Linked DNA regions of Homo sapiens: region 1 is linked to region 2. The links are contacts of gene promoters, found by promoter capture Hi-C in blood cells and fetal thymus (Javierre and others, 2016). All regions are on one chromosome and are shown on one strand. Each heading gives the region's core, a stretch centred on a gene start or on the middle of the fragment in contact. The rest is flanking DNA. Distances are from core to core; before and after follow the strand shown.

What was found. The method cuts DNA at HindIII sites, captures the fragments that hold promoters and counts their contacts. A CHiCAGO score of 5 or more calls a contact.
Region 1: a contact is called between the fragment with the promoter of CAMTA1-AS1 here and the fragment with the promoter of CAMTA1-AS2 in region 2, in 17 of 17 cell types (neutrophils, activated CD4 T cells, total CD8 T cells and 14 more). The highest score is 15.7, in neutrophils.

Annotation. Positions count from the first base shown.
Region 1 is chr1:7,439,492-7,443,615 of GRCh38, reverse strand. It overlaps CAMTA1-AS1 (CAMTA1 antisense RNA 1), which reads left to right and starts at 1,999. Exons shown (of 2, transcript NR_187278.1): 1 at 1,999-2,528; 2 at 2,768-3,049. All of the region lies in intron 5 of CAMTA1 (calmodulin binding transcription activator 1), which reads right to left. The HindIII fragment of the contact is 2,325 bases long and covers 419-2,743 here.
Region 2 is chr1:7,387,150-7,391,047 of GRCh38, reverse strand. It overlaps CAMTA1-AS2 (CAMTA1 antisense RNA 2), which reads left to right and starts at 1,294. Exons shown (of 3, transcript NR_146199.1): 1 at 1,294-1,389; 2 at 1,609-1,708. The region is part of intron 5 of CAMTA1 (calmodulin binding transcription activator 1); the gene reads right to left. RefSeq lists an enhancer at 2,382-2,919. The HindIII fragment of the contact is 18,859 bases long and covers 1-3,898 here.

The DNA.
Region 1 (4,124 bases), core at 750-3,249, 52 kb before region 2:
CGAGCCTCCTCTGTGCCACTCAATATGGCTGGAAGGTGAGACTGGGTTCCCAGTGCCCTAGCAGGGCCATATGCCAAGCAGAAGCTCAATCAGTGGTAGGTATTGTGCTGAGGTGGTCCAGGCGCCAGTCTCCAGAAAATGCTGATTCGGATGCCCAGGGCTGGGTGACTTTCCACTCTCCCTGCTGTCGTCTGACATGGCTATCATCATCTCCACGTGCTCCCAAGGCCACCTTGATGCAGCATCTACTAACTCAACAAGTACTAGCTAGGCTTGCCATGGGCCAGGCCCGATGCTGGGGCTGAGCATGCGATGGGGACCAGAACAGACCTGGTCCCTGCCTCAAGGGGACTGTACCCCACGAAAGTGGGGAAATGGACTTCATGCAGATCATCATACACGTCTAGGGTATGAAGCTTATGTGTGACTGAGCTGGGAACCCGAAGCCTTATGCTTTGCAGCCGTCATCCAGGGCTTTGACTTGGGTAGAGACACAGTATACTTGAGCTGGGAGGGACAGTTCTGTTGGAGTGAATGAGGCCAAGAAGTCAGGAGGAGGATCTGCGCAGGGGCAAGGAGAGACCACAGGCAGGAAGAAGTGTTCAAAGACAGGGATGGAAAGGACATCCTGAGTCCAGGAGGTCAACAGAGAATGTGGCATCTGGGAAGGCCAGGGCAGTAGCACTGTGTCATAGCCCTTGAGTCTCAGTGTCTGCCTTCTCCATAAGAACACCAGCTCTGGGGGCAGGGACCATGCTTGCTTTATTCCTTGCCAATCTCTAAATACCAGCACAGTACTGACATACAGTAGGTGCTCAATAAATGTTTGTAAACTAGATAAAAAGTGCCTCATAGATATTGTCTCATTTACTCTTAACAACAACCCAGTGGAATCAGGATTATCAGCATCCGCATTTTGCCAGTGAGGGAATGGAGGCTCTGGGAGATTGAGAACCTCAGCCAAGTCACGCGTTGAGTAAACCATGGAGGCAGGATTTGCACCCAGGGCTGCTCTGACCCTCAAACCCATATTCTCAACCCGTGTGCCACTTTGCTTTGGCCTCTTTTTCTAGCAGATTCTTTATCTCTTGGAGCTGCTGCTACCACCTCCATGAATACAACCGGGCCATTGGTATGCGAACCTACGTGCTCCCTGTACCGGCTGCCTGCTCATCTATGCATATTTCGTTATTAAAATGGGGATACTTCAATCTCCGAATAATTTTGTCTTTAGGGAAGCTCCGTCCCCAGCTGCCCACAGCGAAAGCCCCCAGGAAGCAGGCACCTACTTGTGATTCAGGCCACCGTGTCCATCTGTCAACACGGTTGTCTCCTGTATCTGCCATCTCTTATTTATAATCCCGCTCAGATTAATGAATGACAGTAGTTCTCATCACAGGAAATTTGATTAATCAATTTAAGTGCTTAATCACCACAGCCTTGCTGAGCGCTGAGCATAAGGGATCTCACTTTGATGCAGATGAATTTCAGGAAGAACTGGGAGAGTAGAAACAAAATTGTCAGCACTTCTCCATGGAAACCCCATGGAGGTTTCAGGGCTGAGGACAGCGCTGGGGAAGTCCTGGGGCCCCCAGAAGCCAGAGGTGGGGTAACAAGAGGATGGGTGGATGACTTACGCAGGGAGCAGCCCTCTGAAACCGCCGGAATCGAGGCCTCCTTTGCACCTTGATTCCACCCAGAGTCTGCGCCTACGCTTTGGGCAGGGGAGGCAGAACCCACGTTGGTCTAAGAGCAGGGAGAAGTGGGCATGATCCTACCATGCTGCAGGGCCTCGGGATGGGGATGGGATTTGCTGCTCTTTGTGCCCAATTAATGAGCGAGACGAACAAGCACACTGAGTAGCTTCCTGCCAGCCGTCCCCTTTGGCAGCAAACTCATCCCCACCTCTGGGCCTTGGCTCGAGTTGTTAGCCAACTCAACCTTGAAGCCGTCCCTTCCTATCAGCCCATGCAAATTCTGCCATCAGCCAAGGACCGCCTCTTCCTCTTCCGGGAAGCTGACTTCAAGCCATGCCCTTCCCTTTTGCAAGCTCCCGTGGCTCGCGACCCGCAGCCCACCCCTGCACCAGTGGACACTGCGGGATGGCCTGGCCTCGGCTCTGCATTTTCACTTCTCTTAGCTCTCATCTCCTCCACCACAGAGACAGCTCTGTCTGAGTATCTTTCTGATACTGTTCTTTATCCCCCAGGACTGGCCCAGCCCAGGGCGGTGCGTACAGCAGACACTTAATGTAACACAGTAGCAGCTTTTAATTTCTCAGGCCAATGAGATACAGACAGTCACTGGTATGGTAGTTTTTCAGTCAAGCATCAAGGGTGTGTGCCCCTGGGGGACATTGCAAAATGCTGGGTGTGGGGAGCAGTTTGAACAGCAACATTCAATATTACACCATGTTTTCATTTTTCAAATGCAGGAAGAACTTATTAGTTTGAATTACAAACAACAGAAGTAGAAAACTCCACAAGGAAAAATCTCAGCTGGTGAAGAAGCTCAGGAGCTCACAGAAGGTGAGCACTTGGGGGTAAGTGGGCTGGGCACCTCAGGAGTTTTGTGATGTCCAAAAGGAGATGTGGGTGACGTAGGGTTTAAAACCCGCACCTGTAGGACCAGTCAAATGGAGACAGAGTTGGCTTCCCAGAGCTACCGCAAGGGCACGAGGTAGGAGGACCAAGCTACCAGTTACTGAATGGGCACTGAGCAGCTATAATGTGTGCACTAAGCTTGTCCTGTCTTAATCCCAAAACAGTGTGATGAAGTAATCAAACCATCGCCATCGGCTAAGGAAACCGAGGGGTGCAGAGCTGATGTCGCTTGGCCCGCAAGCCACGGAGAGTGGGAGCAAGAGGAGGTTTGGTCAGGCTGCCTCTGCCCCTGTCTTTCTCGGCCCACAGGCTCCAAGCAGGCAGGACCAGACCGCAGCTTCCAGGTGCTGGGATCCGGGGACCACACCTTCACCTGCTGCTCTCTTGAAGGAAAAACAAATATCTGCCTCTGGCAGGTAAAAAAAAAATAAAAGGAGTGCGTCTCATGCTGTTTGTGATAGCTGCTACACAGAGAAAGACTAATTTTGGAAACCGATTATTAAAAAATATATTCACTCTGAACGACGCAATCAATCAAACCTTCAAGATGCAGGTTCAGCCGGTGCCGTGGAACTCCCAGGCAACACACGGCTCCTTCCCAGGCTGCTGTCTGGCCCGGCCAGGCCTCCTTCCCACTGGGACTGTCCCAGCTCTGCCCTGGGGACATTGGCCTCCGGCCTGCCCAGGCTGCAGTGAGGATGGAGAGGGAAGAGGTCGGGGCTCCCGATTGCTGACTGGTCAGGAGGCAGCTGCGGAGTCAGGATTGAAGCCGCATCGGCTCCCATGCCATGAAGTGGACAAAGTGGACACCTCTCCCCACCAGGTAGTGGGCACAGAGCCCAAGACACACTGGTAGGAGCAGTCCCTAGCCTGCCCTCTCGCCTATGCCACGGGGCCAGTGCCACCTGAGCCATGGGCTAATGTGCCAGAGATGTGGGGCACATGGGATGCCCAGTGCGGGTACCCGCCCAGTGCTGCCTGCGTTCCAGGAGCCACCTGCCTCCCTTGCCACTGAGACAGGCCTGCTGGGCCTCAACAAAGCCTCACGGAATTCTAGCGATGATTCTGTGAAGGGATCTCCGAGCTCACTGGGGCCTCTTCATTTTGCAAATGAGGAAGCCAAGGTTGGAGATGCAGCTCACGTGACTCCGACACTCCGCACCTTGGACAGCCTCAGATACCCAGGCTTTGCCTCCTGGGAGGCTGGGCTCGGCACTCTCCCTCCCTTCACCCCTTCATCTGCACCTGGGGAGCTCAGAGACCTGCACCCTAGAGGCCTGCACACTTCCGTTCCTCCCCATCATCACAGTGGGGCAGTCCTGAATGAGAAGCTGCCCAGGTGGTGTCTGGCCTATGGGCCTGCACTCTGGAGGCTGGATCCCAGGACCTATGTAGGACGGTGGCCGTACCATGCGCAGGCTTGAGCCTGTTAACCAGTAGCTCAGAGGGTCCTCAGTGGGGAGCCCTGGTCCTGCATGGGTGGTGGGTCCCACACAGACTCAGGCAGGTGAATCGACCCTC
Region 2 (3,898 bases), core at 45-2,544:
CCAGCCCGGGCAACAAGAGCAAAACTCCATAAAAAAAAAAACAACAACCCAGATTCTCGGAGCACTAAAACCTGTCCCCAGTCCCAGGAACCAGCTGGATGCACCACTCAGCCACTCCAACGGAGGCGAGGCCTCCTTCTCATGAAAGTGTAGAAATGGCCATCTTGAGAGAAATGGCTAAACAAGTCCAGCCCCCAGTGCTTGGTGTGGAGTCACGTCACCCTGGCACACCTGGCGGGCGGTGCAGAGCACAGGCTCTCAATGGCAGCCAGTGAGGGCACCAGGGCTGCAAGCCCCGTAGGAATGCATGTGGGGGAGAGGTGCTCTTTTTCTTTGCAGAGTGGAGCAGATTCATTTACACCCATGAGGCTTTCTTTGGTACTGAGTGCTTTCTGTAGGGTGGGGTCCCTTCCAGGAACTTTTCACAGCCTGGGTGTCTGAACAGCAACCCTACTGCCACAGGCACTACTAGCGACCCTGTTGTAGACAGGAGGAAACTGAGGCCCAGAGAGCAGAACTCACTTGCAGGGGCTCAGGAGTAGTAAGCAGCAGGGCCAATCCTGGGCCGTGCACTGGTACTGGCGTTGGCAGTGGGATCTGCGGGCTCCTTTGGGGACATGTCAGACAAGTAATGGCATCCATCACAAGGGTCCAGATAGAGCTCTGAGGGGAGGCTGGTCTGAGGCCCAGGGCCAAGGCACCCACCTGGAATGAGCCTGAGGACAGCAGGTCCCTGAGCTGTGTCAGATGCTTAGAGAAGGCAGGCACCCTGGGCGGGTTGTGTCACCCTCTTGCTCTGGCCCTGTGAACCCTAAGCTCGCTTTGCTTAAGAGAGGGAGGCTTGGCAGCTCCTAGAGGCCCAGGCCCTGGCTGAATTTCTCCAGGGTCCTCAGAGGGTGGGGAAGTGACTGGGCAGAAGTGGGAAGGAACCAGCCCTGCGCCGTCGCCCGGGCTCTTGGCTCCTGCACCCAGAGCCGTCCGGCAGGGAAGCGGCAGGTAAAGATGAATCAGTGATTCAGGGCTGCAGGCCAGGCACCAGGCCAGGCTGTAAAAGTTATTGTGCAGCATCACAATGGAAGGCGGGGGACACAAATAGCATCCGAGGGAAACTAGTGGCCCTGACTTGGAAAGCAAACCTCTCTGCAGCCACGGGACCCCCAACAGCAGCCTCACAGAGCCTGCCCCGGCCACCCTAGTCTGGGCTAACTGTCCTGCCTTCTCCTCCAAGATTCCCTTGCCTGGGTCCCTCCTCCCTCGGCCTCACCACACTCCTCTGGGGACCCTGTGCTTGGACTCCACCCTTTCCTGTCCAGACCACTGTGAAGGCCTTTAGTCACCTCCTAGAGAAGCAAGATTTTCAGCCCTGGCTTTCTACCCCCACACCCTACAGTAAGTAAGATAAATTACCCACCCACCACCTGCCCCCACTTCTCTCCACGGAGCCTCGTTCGGCCTGTGGCCACTCATGTCTGTTTCTAAGGGAACAGTCAAGGGCAAATCAGTGGAGAAGCTGGCCTGTGCTGGCAGGGGTGCTGCAATGGGGCTGTGCCCCTGCCTTCCTGCACTTCCTGCCAGGGAGCCACTCCATTCTTTTTTGCCATCTCCCAGGCCGGCCAGGGGACAGGGTCGTGTTCACACAGTGCTAAGGGAACACGCTGACGTGTGTGACATCAAGAACTCCAGTGCCCACACAGCCCGAGTCCGGATGGTGAGCTCCAGGGAGACCCAGCAGGGCTGCAGGGGGAGCACTGACTGAGCCCATGGGGGAAAGAGGCTCCTGCCGAGCCCAGAGCCCAGAGAGCTGGCCAAGGGGTAGGGTTAGGAGGGATGGAGCTGGGGGCAACAGGCTAGAGAAGAGACAGCTGGGGGTGGGAGGATCTCTCCAGGGTCGTCTCACAGCACCCAGCGGACTCGCTCTGTGCTGCTGCAGAGTGACTCTGACAGTCAGAGCCAGGCAGCCGGGGACAGGCACAGAGCCAGACTCCCTTCCTCCTCCCCCTCCCTCTCGCCGTGCAGTGCCTACTCAGTGCTGGGAGGCTCTGAATGGCACGGGGATGGAGAGTGTAACAACAGAGCGTTAGGGCCCTGCCCCAGTCCGGCAGGAAGCTCGGTCTGGTGGGGAGACCAGCCCAGGCAGACACAGCAGTGCATGCACTGGGCACACCCTGGCTCTGGCTGGAGGGCTCAGAGGCCTCAGGGCCTTCCAGCACTGGTCTCCGTGTCTGAACCCCCCATGGGACAGGATGGGAGCTGCCAGCAGAACCAACAACTCAGTTCCTGGTAACTCCAAGTGGAGATGGGCAGGAACGCTCCCAGGAGGCGCATCAGCAGTCAGAACCAGGGGCTTGGGCCTCAGGAAGGCAGGCTGCTGGCCAGGCCCCCTGGACTCAGGAGACCAAGGCCAGGACGTTCACCAGGGCCAAAGAGAGCAACACCAACAGGGCTGGGCTCCAAGGCCGGGCCGCCTCCCCTCTAGCTTCCCAACACCAGTCCTCCCTGAACATTTCCTTCCAGGAAGACAGGGGCTATTAACTACGTCCCATCCGATTCACAGGGACGTTTGAAATCAGGAAGGAGTGTGGGTTGGATCCACGTTTCTGTTCATACCAGGCAGGCACATCGGAAGGCTCACGGTCAGAGGATGCTGGGACAAACGCCACGAGAGGTTCCTTTTTGTCTGGCTCACCCAGAAGAGAGGCTCCTCTCCTCCCTTCCCTGCAGCACAACGGCCTGGCTGGCACCCAAAGGGCAGCCGGCATGGGCTGACCTCAGAGGAGCAAGGCGTGTTTGCAGCTCTGCCGCTCACATCCACAGTGGCCATGACAACAGGTGCAGCACCATCCATTAAAGCCCTGTGTCATTTCACTTAATTCTCACAACGACCCCCGGAGAAAGGGACTACTATCCCCATTTTCCAGATGAAAAAGGAAATTGGTCCTTAGAGTGATCATCCACCCAAGGCTAGTGACAGGGCTCAGATTGGAACCCAAGGCCCTCCAAGATCTCAAGTCACAGACAAAGAAAGCCCATCTCTGACTTGGCAGGGGAAGGGGGAGGTCACACTGGGAGAGCTGGATGTTGATTCTGAAGGCCTCCCCCAGTAAACCGCTCCAACAACAAAAAGGGGCTTTCTGTACATTATCTGCGAAAAGCCAAGTGAGGGGGAGGGAGGGGAAAGCAATCAAAGCAAAGATCAATTGTGTTGCAGACAATGTGGCAAGAAGACAGATCTTGCTGGAAATTCCTTCTGACTGGACTCTGCCAGGATCAGAGTATTTTTCATTCCAAGATTAAGCAAAATTCTTTCCCTGTCATAACCTCCTACCCATCTGTGTCCAAACTCCCACTATCATTTTTACACCGTGCACATTTTAAAACCTGTTTTGCAGCTTTTTCTCTGTGTGTGTTAGTTGACGCTAACCTGCCTCCAGCTTTAAGAAAAGCAGAGAAGCACGAGAGGCCCCAGGAGGCACCTGGGCTGGGTGAGCCTCAGGCTGGGACCCTGGCAGGACAGTGGCTGGGGTCTAGGGCAGCTGGGACCCTGCTTGCTGGCAGGGGCAGCTGCAGCCGTGAAGCTCAGAGACCCCACGGCCTGGCCTGGACAGAAATGGAAAACAGATGGGAGAAGAGAATGGGAATTTCTTAATAAGGGATTGGATTTGGGAAGTGAAGGGCGAGCAGAAACTAGGATTGTGAGGTCTCCTGGTTGGGGTGGCTGTGTGGTGGTGCCATGTCGGTGGGAGAGAGAAGCCAGTCACTGGGTGGTGGAAATGGTGGTGAAGAGGTGTTTGGTGGATGGGAGGAAGCAGGGTAGGGTCCAAGCCTGTTCAATGAGAGGGGTCAACAGCATACACAAGGGAAGGAGCCCAGTCTGGAGTAATGGATTTGTGGGAGAGAA